Regions from separate parts of the Homo sapiens genome. Here region 1 is linked to region 2. Evidence: promoter capture Hi-C in 16 types of primary human blood cells and fetal thymus (Javierre and others, 2016). All regions are on one chromosome and are shown on one strand. The core of a region is centred on a gene start or on the middle of the fragment in contact, and the rest is flanking DNA. Distances in the headings are between cores, read along the strand shown.

Region 1 (6,372 bases), core at 1,929-4,428, 300 kb after region 2:
TTAAAAAATCTTTGGATTAGCCTAATTTTTTTTCAGACACTGGGCATACTGCCCTGAGCTAATTTGTTTGCCTGAATTAATTATCAGCAGGGGGTGATAGCCTCATTTTCACAGAAGCCCTCTCTTTTGGAAGGAGTGCCTTTTTATTCAAATCGTCCGATTGAGGCTGCTTGGCACTGAGTATAAAGGGTGCCTTGACATTTCCATGAAGACATTTAAATGTTACCGTCTCTGAAGAAACGGTTTTAGAATATGAAAACTTTATCTTTTTTCCCCCCCAAGGAAGAAAAACATCACCAGCTTAATTATCTCTGTAAAATAACTTCCTCATTTGCTTTTCATATTGCTAGTATAAAAAGATAATGATACTGTTTTCAAAAATGGAAACAATTAAAGATGATCTTGCAAAACTTGCTTGTTTGATTTTTGTCTATTTAAATGCCACCTCAATTCAGAGGTCAAAGATGCATGCAGGGTTATGGTTATATATTACCCTTCCATGTTGATTGTTAAAAGATCTCCTAGGAGGGCAAATGCAATTGAAAAGGTGCTGCTGGTGATTGTACTCCACAATGACCTCAAAAAGCTTCTCATATTAGGAGAAGCAAAAGACACTTAACTCTTTACATATACATGGATATATATGTATATATTTTTACTCTCTCTCCCACTTTCTCTCTCTCTCTCTCTCTATATATATATATATATTTCATGTTGTATGTTTTTTACCACTATATATATTTTTTATGTTGTGTATTTTTTACCCACTATATATATAGTAGGTAAAATATAGATATAGAGATATAGATATAGATATACAGATAGTGGTAAAATATATATCTGTATATAATAGTGGTTAAAATATGTATATTTAATAATACATATATATTTATATATATAGTGGTAAAAAAACACAGCATTAAATGTACCTTCTTAACAAATGTTTAAGTATACATTACAGTATTATTTACCATACACACACTGTTTTCCAGCAGATATCTGGAACTTATTCATCTTGCATAACATCTTGCATAGTTAAATAGCAGCTCTCCATTTTTCCCCTTCCGCAGACCCTGGCAATCATCATCATTCTACTTTCTGCTTCTGTGAGTTTGACTATTTTAAAAATACATCATATAGGTGGAACCATACAGTATTTGTCCTTCTGTGACTGGCTTATTTCATGTAATGTAATGTCCTGAAGGTTCATCCATATTGTAGCACATGACAAGATTTTCTTCCTTTTTAAGGCTGAATAATATTCCATTGTATTATGTACCACTTTTGCTTGACCTGTCCGTTCTTCTGTCAATGGACATCAAGTTGTTTGTACTTCTTGGTTATTGTGAATAATGCTGCAATGAACATGAGAGTGCTATTACCTTCTCCAGATCCTGTTTTCGATTCTTTTGGTTGAGTACCCAGCAATGGAATTGCTGGATCATGTGGTGGTTCTATTTTTTATTTTTTGAGGAACCTCTGTAGTTTTTCATAGCAGCTGTACCATTTTACCTTCCTACCAACAGTGCACAAAGGTTCCAATTTCTTCAAATCTGCCCCAACACTTGTTATTTTCTGTTTTTGTTTGTTTTGTTTTGTTTTTTATAATGGCCATCCTAATGGGTGTGAAGTGATATTTTGTTATGATTTTAATTTGCATTTCCCTGATTTTTAGTGATGTTGATTAGTGATGTTATTTTCATATGCCTGTTGGCCATTTGTATTATTTTGTACCTTACATAACTGCCAACTCAAAATGGACTAAAAGCTTAGATGTAAGGCCTGGAAGTATAAAACTTCTAGAAGAAAACGTAGGGGAAAAACTTCATAACATTGGCCTTAGGAATGACTTCTTGGATATGATATCCGAGGTACAGGCAACAAAAGCACAAATATACAAGTGGTGCTTCAAACTTAAAAGGTTCTGCATAACAAAGGAACAATCAACAGCATGAAAAGGTGACCTATGGAATGGCAGAAAATATTTGCAAACAATACATTTGATAAGGGGTTAATATCCAAAACTCTTGTTAAAAGAAAGATCTTTCATTGAATCTAAATCAAGAATCAGCAAACTTGTTCTGCGCAAAGGGCCAGACAGTAAATATTTAGGCTTTGCAGGCCATATGGTCTCTGTTGCAACCACTCAGTCCTCTGTTGTAGTGTTAAAACGGCCATAGACAATATGTAAATGCATGACTGTGGCTGTGTCCCAATAAAACTTTATTTGCAAAAACAGGCTGGGATAGATTTCATCTGTGGGCCATAGTTTGCTGACCCCTGGTCTAGAACAGAGTTTCTCAACCTGGCTGTATTGTTATTTTTTTCTGGATAGTCTTGTTGTGAGAGGCTGTCCTGCGCAGCCTCCTGTAGAACTGTAGGATGCTTAGCAGCACTCTTGACTCTGCCTACTAGATGCCAGCAGCAACCCCTCCCCCTGCCTCCAGTTGTGACAACGAAAAATGTCTCCAAACATTTTCAAATGTCCTTTGGGGGACAAAATTGCTGCTAGTTGAGTACCTCTTATCTACATGATGAAAATAATCTAATGAAGGGTAATAGAAATATTTCCCTAAAGTTACAAAAAGTAGGGTAACATACTACTTTTCAGAAGAATTGAAAACTATAGTATATTTGTCTTAGGTAGGTCAAGGGCTCCTCAAAGGGGCCATTATCACAACCTAAATTTGGAAAGCTGTTCAAAAACAACTGAAATGGCAACATATTTGAAAAGTGCTCTGTTAATAATGCAAATATGAGCTTAACCTACTTTTATGATAGGCACAAGAAACAAAGCAGTTCAACATATTAGCATGTTCTAATGGGACTTTCTGAGTTTGAGAGTTGGTTGTGAGCTGGAAAGGCTAGGGAAAAGCTAGTAGTTCTAATTCCTACTTGGATAAGGGCTTATTTTTTCTGCTTATCTGAATTCAGAACGAACACAGTCAGTGTGACTTTTGAAAACACTCACATGTTTTTCATTGTTTGGACAGGGCTGGACAAAAATGGCCTGGTTTCACTGCAAATTGGCAGTAACACATGTTTTCAAAAGTTGAAAACAGCATAACCCTCATGAATGAATCTCAAAGAATGTTGTCTTCTTGTCCTTTAGAATAAACACCTGTTTTGCAAATAGGAGGGTAAAATCCACTTTATCAAGAAATTGTGGGTTTATTTTCTCTTCACTCACATGATTATTTCTTTAGTAATTTAAACATTTAGGTACAATTTAAAATATTATAATTTATATAATCATATCTTTAAACAAGCAATAACAACAAAAATACCCTCACATTTCATCAATAATTTCAGTTAAGCATTTTGAGCTAATTTTCTTTTCTGACTTGAAAAGGAAATACAGATATACTTTTCTAATGTGGCTCTCACACTTTTTGTTTTCTTTTGTTTTTTTTTTGAGATGGAGTTTTGCTCTTGTCGCCCAGGCTGGAGTGCAGTGGTACAATCTTGGCTCACTGCAACCTCTGCCTCCCAGGTTCAAGTGATTCTCCTGCCTCAGCCTACTGAGTAGCTGGGATTACAGGCGCCCGCCACCACGCCTGGCTAATTTTTTGTATTTTTAGTAGAGACAGAGTTTCACCATGTTGGCCAGGCTGGTCTCGAACTCCTGAGCTCAAGTGATCAACCTGCCTCGGTATCCCAAAGTGCTGGGATTACCAGCACTTTGTGGTGGCATGAGCCACCACACCGAGCCAGGTTCTCACTCTTGAAGGGAGCTGTTTGCTCCTCCCCTGCCGTAAATCCTGCTCATTCACTATCTCTGATGGCCACAGCAGACACACTCAGTGACTGGATCACCCTAACACCAGCACTGTTGGATGCACTATGATGAAAATGTCAGTGGATAAATGGAATCACTTCTTTTATACTTGGGATCATGAAAAAGTGTGATAAGAACAGGCGCTTTCTTCATAGCCTTCCCCCAAATCCACCTTTCAACTTTACCCCAAGAGATCTAGCTCCTGAAATCCCATCTGTTTATACCATACTTTCTAATGAATACCCCCAACTGCCTTCCTTGCAGGCTGGTCCCGCGTGGGTTGTAAATGGGATGCATTTGACAGTGGGCCTTTCTCTCTGTCCCTCAGGTTACCATGGCCTCTACTGTGAGGAGGAATATAATGAGTGCCTCTCCGCTCCATGCCTGAATGCAGCCACCTGCAGGGACCTCGTTAATGGCTATGAGTGTGTGTGCCTGGCAGAATACAAAGGTGAGAGGCCGCCTGGCCTTCCTGTGCCAGAATGGCTCTAAATGACGTCATGTATTTCTCAGTGTAAATGCATAAACCTCTAATTGGACCATGAATTGTTCAGAATAACAATCAAATGCTGAAGCTGGCATGATTAATCGGTCCAAGGAGACCAATTTGCAAGTCTCTGGTTTCTTCCTGATAGATTGAGAAACAACCCCCTTTCCTGTCCTGTTCTTTGTGGATCCTCGCTTTCTTTTTTATTGAATGTGTAAAAAGCTGAAAACAAAAAGTAATATTAAGATGGACTGTCAGACATAGGTTAGAGACCATGGCTGTGAAAACTGTGGAAGAGGAAGGATGCCGTCCTATAAAGCTTCTTATGCAGAGATAGAATGCTGTGCTTTCTTGGGGAGGAGGCAGGCGGAGTCCCATGTATCAGCAAGTAAGTTAATGCTTATTAAAAACAGGCGACATTGACAGAGTGTTTCCAATGTGTGGACCCCGTTCTAACCCCTAATGTGCATAGCTCACTAAATCCCCCCGAGAACCCTATGAGGTGGACAGTAATGCTCTTCCCCTATAAGCCTGGTCAGCGTGGTTCCTAAAGCCCTTTCCCAGCATCTTCACTGGCCTCTGGCCACGTTTTGTGGATGGCAAGGCTTCCTGGAGCCCAGATATCCTCAGACGGCCCTGTTCCAGGAGAACCTATTTATCAGCTGTTGCACACATTTCTCTAAGCCATAACTACGGGGCCGGGTTTAGATTTTGGAATGCGTTTGTGGGCTCTATTTATAGCCATTTCATTCAACCGCTTGCTCCTATTGCTGCTTGCTTGATGCCATCCACCTGGCTGGAGACCTTGCATTGCCCTCACCGTTGCTTCTCTTTGGATGAACCTACCTTTATTTAGTAACCTTTTTGGCAAGTCTCATGGCCTTGTAGGCTACACTGAAAACTTGATTAAGCTCCTGGATAAGAGGGCTGAAGCTGGGCCAGGTCTTGACTTTGTGTTCCACAGATCTGATGCTTCTGTTGGAGTATGACGTTCGGTTAGAACCAAACTCCACTAACATCTACCAGGACACAACAGCAGATGTGCTGGCTTCATTCTCAGGCTTCTCAGTTCTGAGTCTATCTATCTATTACCTTTCTCTCTACATATCTTCAACCTCCTTCTTTCCCCTTGCTCCTTTCCATGTGTATAAATATTTTCATGGATTTCTTACTCTGAACAAATGAAGATTCTAGGAAGATGGCAGCTCACATTGACATTCAATATCTCTGATCCCTCCTGACTCTCTGCTAGGGATGGCTCAATAAGGTAGATGACCCTGAATGGGGTCATCTGAAGATTTGGGGTCTCAAGAAAGGGTATGTGTGCTGGGAGCCTTTGCTTAACCACAAGAACAGGGGATGAGGGCTCCAGAGAGAACTGATGACTCAATGAACAGATTAGTCCAAAAAAATCCTTCAGCTTATAGAGAGGAAGTGCATGCTGTAATTGTGCTGCGTCTGACCCTAGGAGGCAGAGGGGTGTACTGATCTCATGGCTACGGGCTGCTGTCTAAGGAAATTGCACAGTAGGCTGAGCTGGCCCCCCCATTTTTTGTGGCCTTGAGAACACCAAACTGGGAGGCCTCTCTCTGCCTCATGCCTTAGTACACAGGGCCCCATTGGCTGCCCATCCATCCCTGAAGGGGAATGTGTTATGTTGTCTGTCTCTGCCAAGATTTCCACCCACTAGCCTGGCCAGTACACTAGCCCACGCCAGCAACTCAGAGAGGGAGAAAAGTTTTGGGAAATAAAAACAAAAATTGCAACAACAGCTCTAAACACTCAAGAAAGGAAGTGAAGAAAGTAATGTACACTACTCAAAATTGAATTTGGATCTGAATAAAAAGGAGGAACTAGTGCATGAGAGAATCAAAATATGAGGAAGTGGAAACCACGAGTGAAAAGACAGGAAACATGGAGAAAAGATTTGAGAGATCTGCTTCTGCCTGAGCGATGGGTGCTCCAGAAGAAGGAGCATGTGGAAATAGAAGCAGAATTAACTAACTCCTAGAAGGAGGTGTCTGTGAGGTGAAGAAAGTCTTATTTTCAAATAGAATGGGCTCACAGGGCAGTAATGGGATTAATGAAGGAGATGATACACAATTTG
Region 2 (6,709 bases), core at 545-3,044:
ATATTTCAAAATAATATGAAATACACAAACAAAGGGGTTGCTCAGGCAAAAGTACAATAAACTGAAATGTGATTTTAATTAACTCACAACCTTTTTACACTTCATCTTGCTTCATTTGTGTGTGTGTCTTGATGGAAGGCAATGAAGAGCACTATCCACTAGTCCAGGATTTAAGGTAAGAGAAGTTAGTTTCAGGAAAGAACGCAACTCCAGGGGCACAGAAACCACCTGAATGACGACACTAGTACCAGCAGAGGGTGCTGGCGTGGCACAAAATTAAGAATTTTCAAGAGGAAGAGGTCTTAGATTGAAAGACAGCAGGTGTGAGGAAAAATGTAATAACTCTATCCACTTGGAGGTCTGAATTCTCCGCTTGCAGATCTGTCTGGGGTTCAGTGATTTCCTGCAATGGCCACATGAATTTTAGGTATCTCCTGAAGCAGAAAAGTGTGACATTTGCTTCTGCGTTTGAACAGGACAGGGAGAAGCCGTGCAGTTTGCCTTCTGTTTCCACTGGAGGACTTTTAGCAATCCCTGGCGTCTGTGACACCTACAGCAGAAGTTCACATGGAGTCCTTACTTTAATTTTTTTAAAAAACAAAACAAGCTATTTTTGTGTTTACTAAAAAAAAAATTGGCCCAGACTGTCAATCCAGGGGAATCACATTTTCTTTTTTCATTTGGCCACCTTAAAAAGAAGGTAACAGGTACCTGGGAACCCACAGGTAATAGAGATTGTGAAAGGTCAGGTGGAGGAGACAAGGCTGGATGCGCTTTATTCAGCGGAGTGCAGCCTCCTTGGCGGTCGCAGCACCAGCCAGCCCAGCCAGGACGTGTAGAAGAGCCCGCCCCCCCCATCCCCTCCGAAGTAGGTCACAGCGAATGCTCCTTTTATGCAGAGTCCCCTGTTGCGATTCCTGCCGCTAGCAGCGCCTCTGCCAACCTGGGCTTTTGAACTGTTCTTTCGGGCGTTCTGGGCTGGGAGTCAATTGACCCACTGGATTCGAATCCAGACTTTCTGGGCCTCAGTTTCCCCCTAGGTTCAACGACAGGGGTGGACAGCCTTACACCAAGGCCTCTTCCCGGCCTCACACGGCGCGGCCAGACGTTCCTTAGTGGTGCGGCAAGGCCCCGCGCTCTGGAAAGGGCCGGCGAGAATGAGACAGCTGGGTCAGCACCAAGGACAAGGGCCCCGGGTCCGCCTGGCGGAGGCGAGGTCACTTCCAGGCGAACCCGGCTGCTGAGCAAGCGTCGGGCGCAGGGTTCCGTGGCCGGGCGGGAGGGCTTGGGGTGCCGGGAGAAGCGCTGTGGGAAGGGGAGCAGTCCCGGGGGATGAGGCAAGGCCGGGCCCCGCGGCGGTCTCGCAGATTCTGCGCCAAGAGGCCAAAGGTGGCTGCTGCGAGCGCGCCGCCCCTCCCTTGAGGCGCCCTGCCGCCTCCCGCGCCCTGCCCTGCCCGGGCCTTGGGGCGCACTCGGTGCTCCCGGCTCTGGAAGCCCCTCAAAGCCCCGCTTCCCTCACTCGTGGACCTCTCCAGCCCCTTTCCTGCCCCAGCGTCGCCTGGCTCCCTGTACCAGGGCTGCTTCTGGACACACCCGTGACTTCGACCCACTCCTGGGGGATGGGGTCCCGCATCGTCTTCCTGCAACCCCCATCCCAACTCCCTGCGGGGAAAGAGGCCCCACTCCCCGATGCTCCAGAGCCGGGGCCGCCAGGCGCCCCGCCCCCCGCTCGCCCCGCCCCGCCCCGCCCCGCAGGCCCCGCCCGCCGTTGCCCGGGGAACCGCGGATCCCGCAGCTGCAGGAGGCGCCCGGCCCGGCGGAGCAGCCCTAGCCGCCACCGTCGCTCTCGCAGCTCTCGTCGCCACTGCCACCGCCGCCGCCGTCACTGCGTCCTGGCTCCGGCTCCCGCGCCCTCCCGGCCGGCCATGCAGCCCCGCCGCGCCCAGGCGCCCGGTGCGCAGCTGCTGCCCGCGCTGGCCCTGCTGCTGCTGCTGCTCGGAGCGGGGCCCCGAGGCAGCTCCCTGGCCAACCCGGTGCCCGCCGCGCCCCTGTCTGCGCCCGGGCCGTGCGCCGCGCAGCCCTGCCGGAATGGGGGTGTGTGCACCTCGCGCCCTGAGCCGGACCCGCAGCACCCGGCCCCCGCCGGCGAGCCTGGCTACAGCTGCACCTGCCCCGCCGGGATCTCCGGCGCCAACTGCCAGGTGAGTGGAAGCGGCGGGCGCGGTGCGGGGCGCTGGTCCGGGACCAGCAGCCTCTTCCCGCCGGCCCTGCTGCTGCTGCCCGACAATGGGCACGCCTGACACAGGCTTTCCCACTTTGGGAAGAAGATGGATCCAGTCTCTTGGCCCGCGTGGACGCGGACCCCCGGGCCGACCCTGATTCCCTTACCCGCCCTGGTTCCCGGGCGGGGCCAGCCGGGCTCTCGGGGTGTGCCGCTCCGGGGCTCGGCACTTCTCGCGCGGGGCTCTAGACGCTCCGGTTGGCCACTGAGTGGCGCGCCCCTCCAGGCCGGGCCGAGCCAAGAACCACTTGAGCGGTGCCCGCCTTGGCAGCGCGGAGGAGCCGGCTCCGAGCGTCCCCGGCGAGGTGTTCAATGTCCAGGTGGTCCACGCTCCACGTCCGGCTGGACCCTGTGTGTGTAAAGGGTGTGCGGTGTGGGAGGCAGGTGATGGTGGGCCCCGTGCCAGGTGGTGGGGCACTTTCTCCTTCTCTTCCTACGCCCTTGAGGGCTGTGACAAAGCAGCCAGAGGACGAGGAGGGCAGCTGCCTCCCCTCGGCCTGCGACCAGCCCTCTCTAAGCTTAGGAGCAGTGTTGGAACAGTCGGAGGCATTCGAGGGGGCATTGTACGTGGCGCTGGCAGGGCCGCCCTTCCTGCCGGACGCTCCACGGGGCGCACGCTTGGGGCTGGCAGCCGGGGCGTGAGCAGGGCACCGGGAAGCCGCCAGAAAGCGTGGGGGCGGTGCGAGGGATGGGACGATGGGATGTAGCCAGCAGCCGCCCGTGAATTTGGGGTTTTCAGGAGAATTTGGCAGAAAATAATATCTGGGGCTTTTACAAGTCCGTTAAAGCTCTGTGAAACCTATTAACATCAACATTTCCAGTAGGCAATTTGGTAGGACTGTGTGTACGGGTAGAAAATCCCCAAACCTGTATTGCAGGGTAGGGCAAATAATGAAGTTATCTGAAATGATTACATTAAACCACATGAATATGGACGATATTTGGGATCAGATACTATCTTCCTTACATTTAGGGTGGAGGAGTTTGTTTCATATAAATTTGATAACAATGATTGGAGAGTTACTTTGAGAATGCTCAAATAGGTTCTTTCAATGGGGAAAAAGGCTGCCCTTTCATTATGACAGGTTTTACATTTTTTAGAGGTAAATGGGATTGAGAAACTTGACCTTGACAGCCAGATTTTTTTGCATTTATCTAGAATCTTTTTATTTCATTTAATAGCAAATTAGCAAACTGAATCTATCTTTTCAACACTGTGCTCTTCCTCTTTGTTTACTGGTTACAATAAGCTTTAGTTACTTGAAGGGAGGTGATGAGGAGGAGGAAGAATTTGTGTGATGTGAGCCTCAGGAGTAGATTTGGGACATGATAGCTTCTTGGGGGAAATGCCTGTTGGAGCCATTCTAACCATTAGAACAAAATCTTGCTTTTGCAAAAGTCAAAATAACTGCAAATCAAAAACCAAGGAATGCACTCACGCTAATTTTCCCTGTGGATTGATGATTTATATGACTTTTCCTGAAGAAATGAATTGTCTGAGTGTGTCCATCAAACTGCTGTTATATTCACACGTCTGAATTTTATCCTTCAAAGAAATAGTTGATTTGGACCTAGGGTTTAGTGGGAATGGATGGGAGAAGGTAGGTTAGAGTGCCCATCGATTTACATGAGAAGAAAGACTCACTGGGAATTTAACACAACTCTGAGATGGTTTTTGGTGACTCTAAAAACAGATATAAGACATCTTCAAGAAAAAGAGCTCTTTAGTGCCACCTAAAGATGACTAACAGCGAAACATAAATATTTTGATTTGTCCTAAGTAGTGACTTGATGTATAATATAATTCATTCCGAAGAGTCAGGAACTAATACATAACATTGCAGGACCAACTGGATCAAAACAGATTCAGATTTCTTTTGTAGCTCCCATTGGAGGTAGGCTTAGCTGTGTGAACACCATCCACCTGAGCAGAAGCAATACTGCATGCCCTGGTGTGTGAGTTGGAGAGAGCGGTGAAGTTACTGTAATCCTCATAGGAAAGCTTAGTGAACTTGGAACTTGATTGGACTTGGTTACCCAGAAAAACTTACTGAGATGATTCAGGGCCTTACAATCCATAAAAATGGATTCCTGATGATTTTAATTTAATCGTTCATGATCTCGCAGTAAGACTTGAGACTCATTTTTCATGGGAACAGCAAAGAACACAAAAGACAATTTCAGAAGAGAAGTTAAACCTGGGGTGGTGGGGAGGGGAGGGGAGAGAGGGAGAGAGAAACTACACATACTCAATTACAGATAAGGAAATTGGATCTTAGCCACTGCAGACTATGTGGTTGCTGAAATAGAACCTTGTGCTCACTGGATAAATTGGAAATGGAATTTTACCTGGATGTAAAGAGGATCTTTTAACAGAGCGTCACTCCTCCTTCTCCAAAGACAATAGTGTTAGCAATGGTAACATTAGAACCTAACCTTGAAGTTTCTTTCTGTGTGTGGGGAAATTTTGAGAAAATCATAAACTACGAATTAGGATTAAAATGGCTGTCTTTAGGCTTTTTTAAAAAAGGATGTCTTTAGCTTTTCTGTGGTTGGCTGATTGAGTTTGCGTAAGTCAATGGGGTCTAGGACATGCTTCTTTTGTCACCTGAGTCATGGAAACTCCTAGGATTTGGGAATTGTAGGTCGTGTGGGTTTGAAGTCAAGCTGAAGTTAAAACTACTGGGTCTTATTTCCTCATCTTCAACGATGGGATCTATGGGACCTACCTCATGAAGATAGTGATTCCATTCCTTGATGTCTGATTGCTGCTGACAGCTTTAAAGCCTCACCTCTCCCCTTCCTCTTTTCCTCCACATCAAAACAAGCTGATAAGAAAGCCCAGGGGTTCCCTCCTTTGGTGCTGGTGGGAGGTTCAAACCATGCAAACTCCTGCCCTGTGCTACTCCAGCCCCAACCCCAAAATGCAGCAAAACCCACAAGCCAGTCTCCTTTCCCTGTTCTCAGAAGCCATTTAAACCCATTTGGGAGCTGCCTGCTCTCCCCAGAGAGCCCCATTATGTCAGCAGTAAACCTTTTTGTATCCTGTGTGTGTGTGTGTGTGTGTGTGTGTGTGTGTGTGTGCGCGTGTATGCATGCCATTTTCAGTCTCAGGGTCCAAACCAAATTTTGAGTGGGTGTCCATCCTGTCTCTGTGGGATGTTCACACTAAGGTTCTGGGAAGGATTAAATTAATTAAGTGCTGTAAATCACTGAGCACCTGTGACATTTCTTTCTTTGTAAACTTTCTGCACATATTTCAAATGCTCATTACCTTAACTAGATCGAGCTAATCATCATCTCTTTTAGTCAAATGCAGAAAATGAAGCTCATTTTGATTGAGTGACTAATCCAAGGTCACATTTTGATACTGCCCTGAAAGTCCTCTAACACATGCAAACATCTTAAATCATGAGAAATTCAGCTGATTTTAAAACTGTATATGAAAATCTAATTTGTAGATATGTAATGATGATGATGATGGTAGCTTACCCTCCTTTTAAGCACTTGCCACGTGCCTGCACTGTTCCAAGGACTTTGCAGACATAACTTGCTGATCCTTGCAATGTCCTATGAGCTGGGTGCTGTCCCTACTCCCATTTTATAGATGAAGTACAGAAAAGTGAAGTGACTGTCCCAATGTCACACTGCTAGTAAGTGTGAGAACTGGAACTGGAATTTGAGCCAGCCAGGCTGGCTTGATACAGGGCTATAGAATCTAAAGAGTGCCTAGATGAAAATCCAGCCCTGGACCTGTCATAGTTACAATAGGGAGCAAGAGCTATAACCTCCTTGAGTTTTATCATTAAAAAGGGGATAAAGAAATTTCTGAGTCCAGTCTTGCTCTAAATGAGCTTGTATGAGTGTGCTCAGCTGGAATAAAAAGGCACAGAGGTGACAAAGACACAGATTCTCCTTATGCCACATGCTAACCAGGAACCTTCACCTTAGAGTTAGAATTCTGGGTCCTAGCTGAAGTTATTTTTACCATGATGGCAAGCAAATGGACACTACATAAAAAAAATGTTTCTGATAGGTTTGAAAAAACTTCAACTGATTAGAAATTGAGGCCGCTCTTGCTTGTTCTGGTTCATTTGGGGAAGCAGGCAGGTATCAGAGGTGGCAGTGGCTGGGCCAATTTTTCTTTTGTGGTGAGTGATACAGAAACTCCTTCTATTGGGCTGTCCGTCAAAGAAGGGGCTATTTACATTTGTATTACTTTGTTTGTAAAGCTTATTTTATTTTCATAAAATAATTATTTGCCTAATATTTAAGCAGTCAGATACCTGTTTGTTTTTTCGTTACATGTTCCCTAAGGATCCTATCCTTCAGGATTATAATAACAATGTGTTAATTTCTGCACTTGGAGTAAAAAGGGGACATGTGTGGCTGCTTTTCATGCAAGTTAAATTTACTTATTAAACTGAT

What was found. The method cuts DNA at HindIII sites, captures the fragments that hold promoters and counts their contacts. A CHiCAGO score of 5 or more calls a contact.
Region 1: a contact is called between a fragment that was not itself captured here and the fragment with the promoter of DNER in region 2, in 1 of 17 cell types (endothelial precursors). The highest score is 5.6, in endothelial precursors.

The regions. Positions count from the first base shown.
Region 1 is chr2:229,415,965-229,422,336 of GRCh38, reverse strand. DNER (delta/notch like EGF repeat containing) reads left to right here. Exons shown (of 13, transcript NM_139072.4): 9 at 4,107-4,229. Among named protein-coding and RNA genes, the nearest start is that of PID1, 150 kb to the right of the region's middle. The HindIII fragment of the contact is 2,816 bases long and covers 1,771-4,586 here.
Region 2 is chr2:229,709,640-229,716,348 of GRCh38, reverse strand. DNER (delta/notch like EGF repeat containing) reads left to right here and starts at 1,794. Exons shown (of 13, transcript NM_139072.4): 1 at 1,794-2,201. The coding sequence starts at 1,926. RefSeq lists enhancers at 338-1,111, 1,112-1,886 and silencers at 1,724-1,783, 1,854-1,963. The HindIII fragment of the contact is 4,517 bases long and covers 1-2,801 here.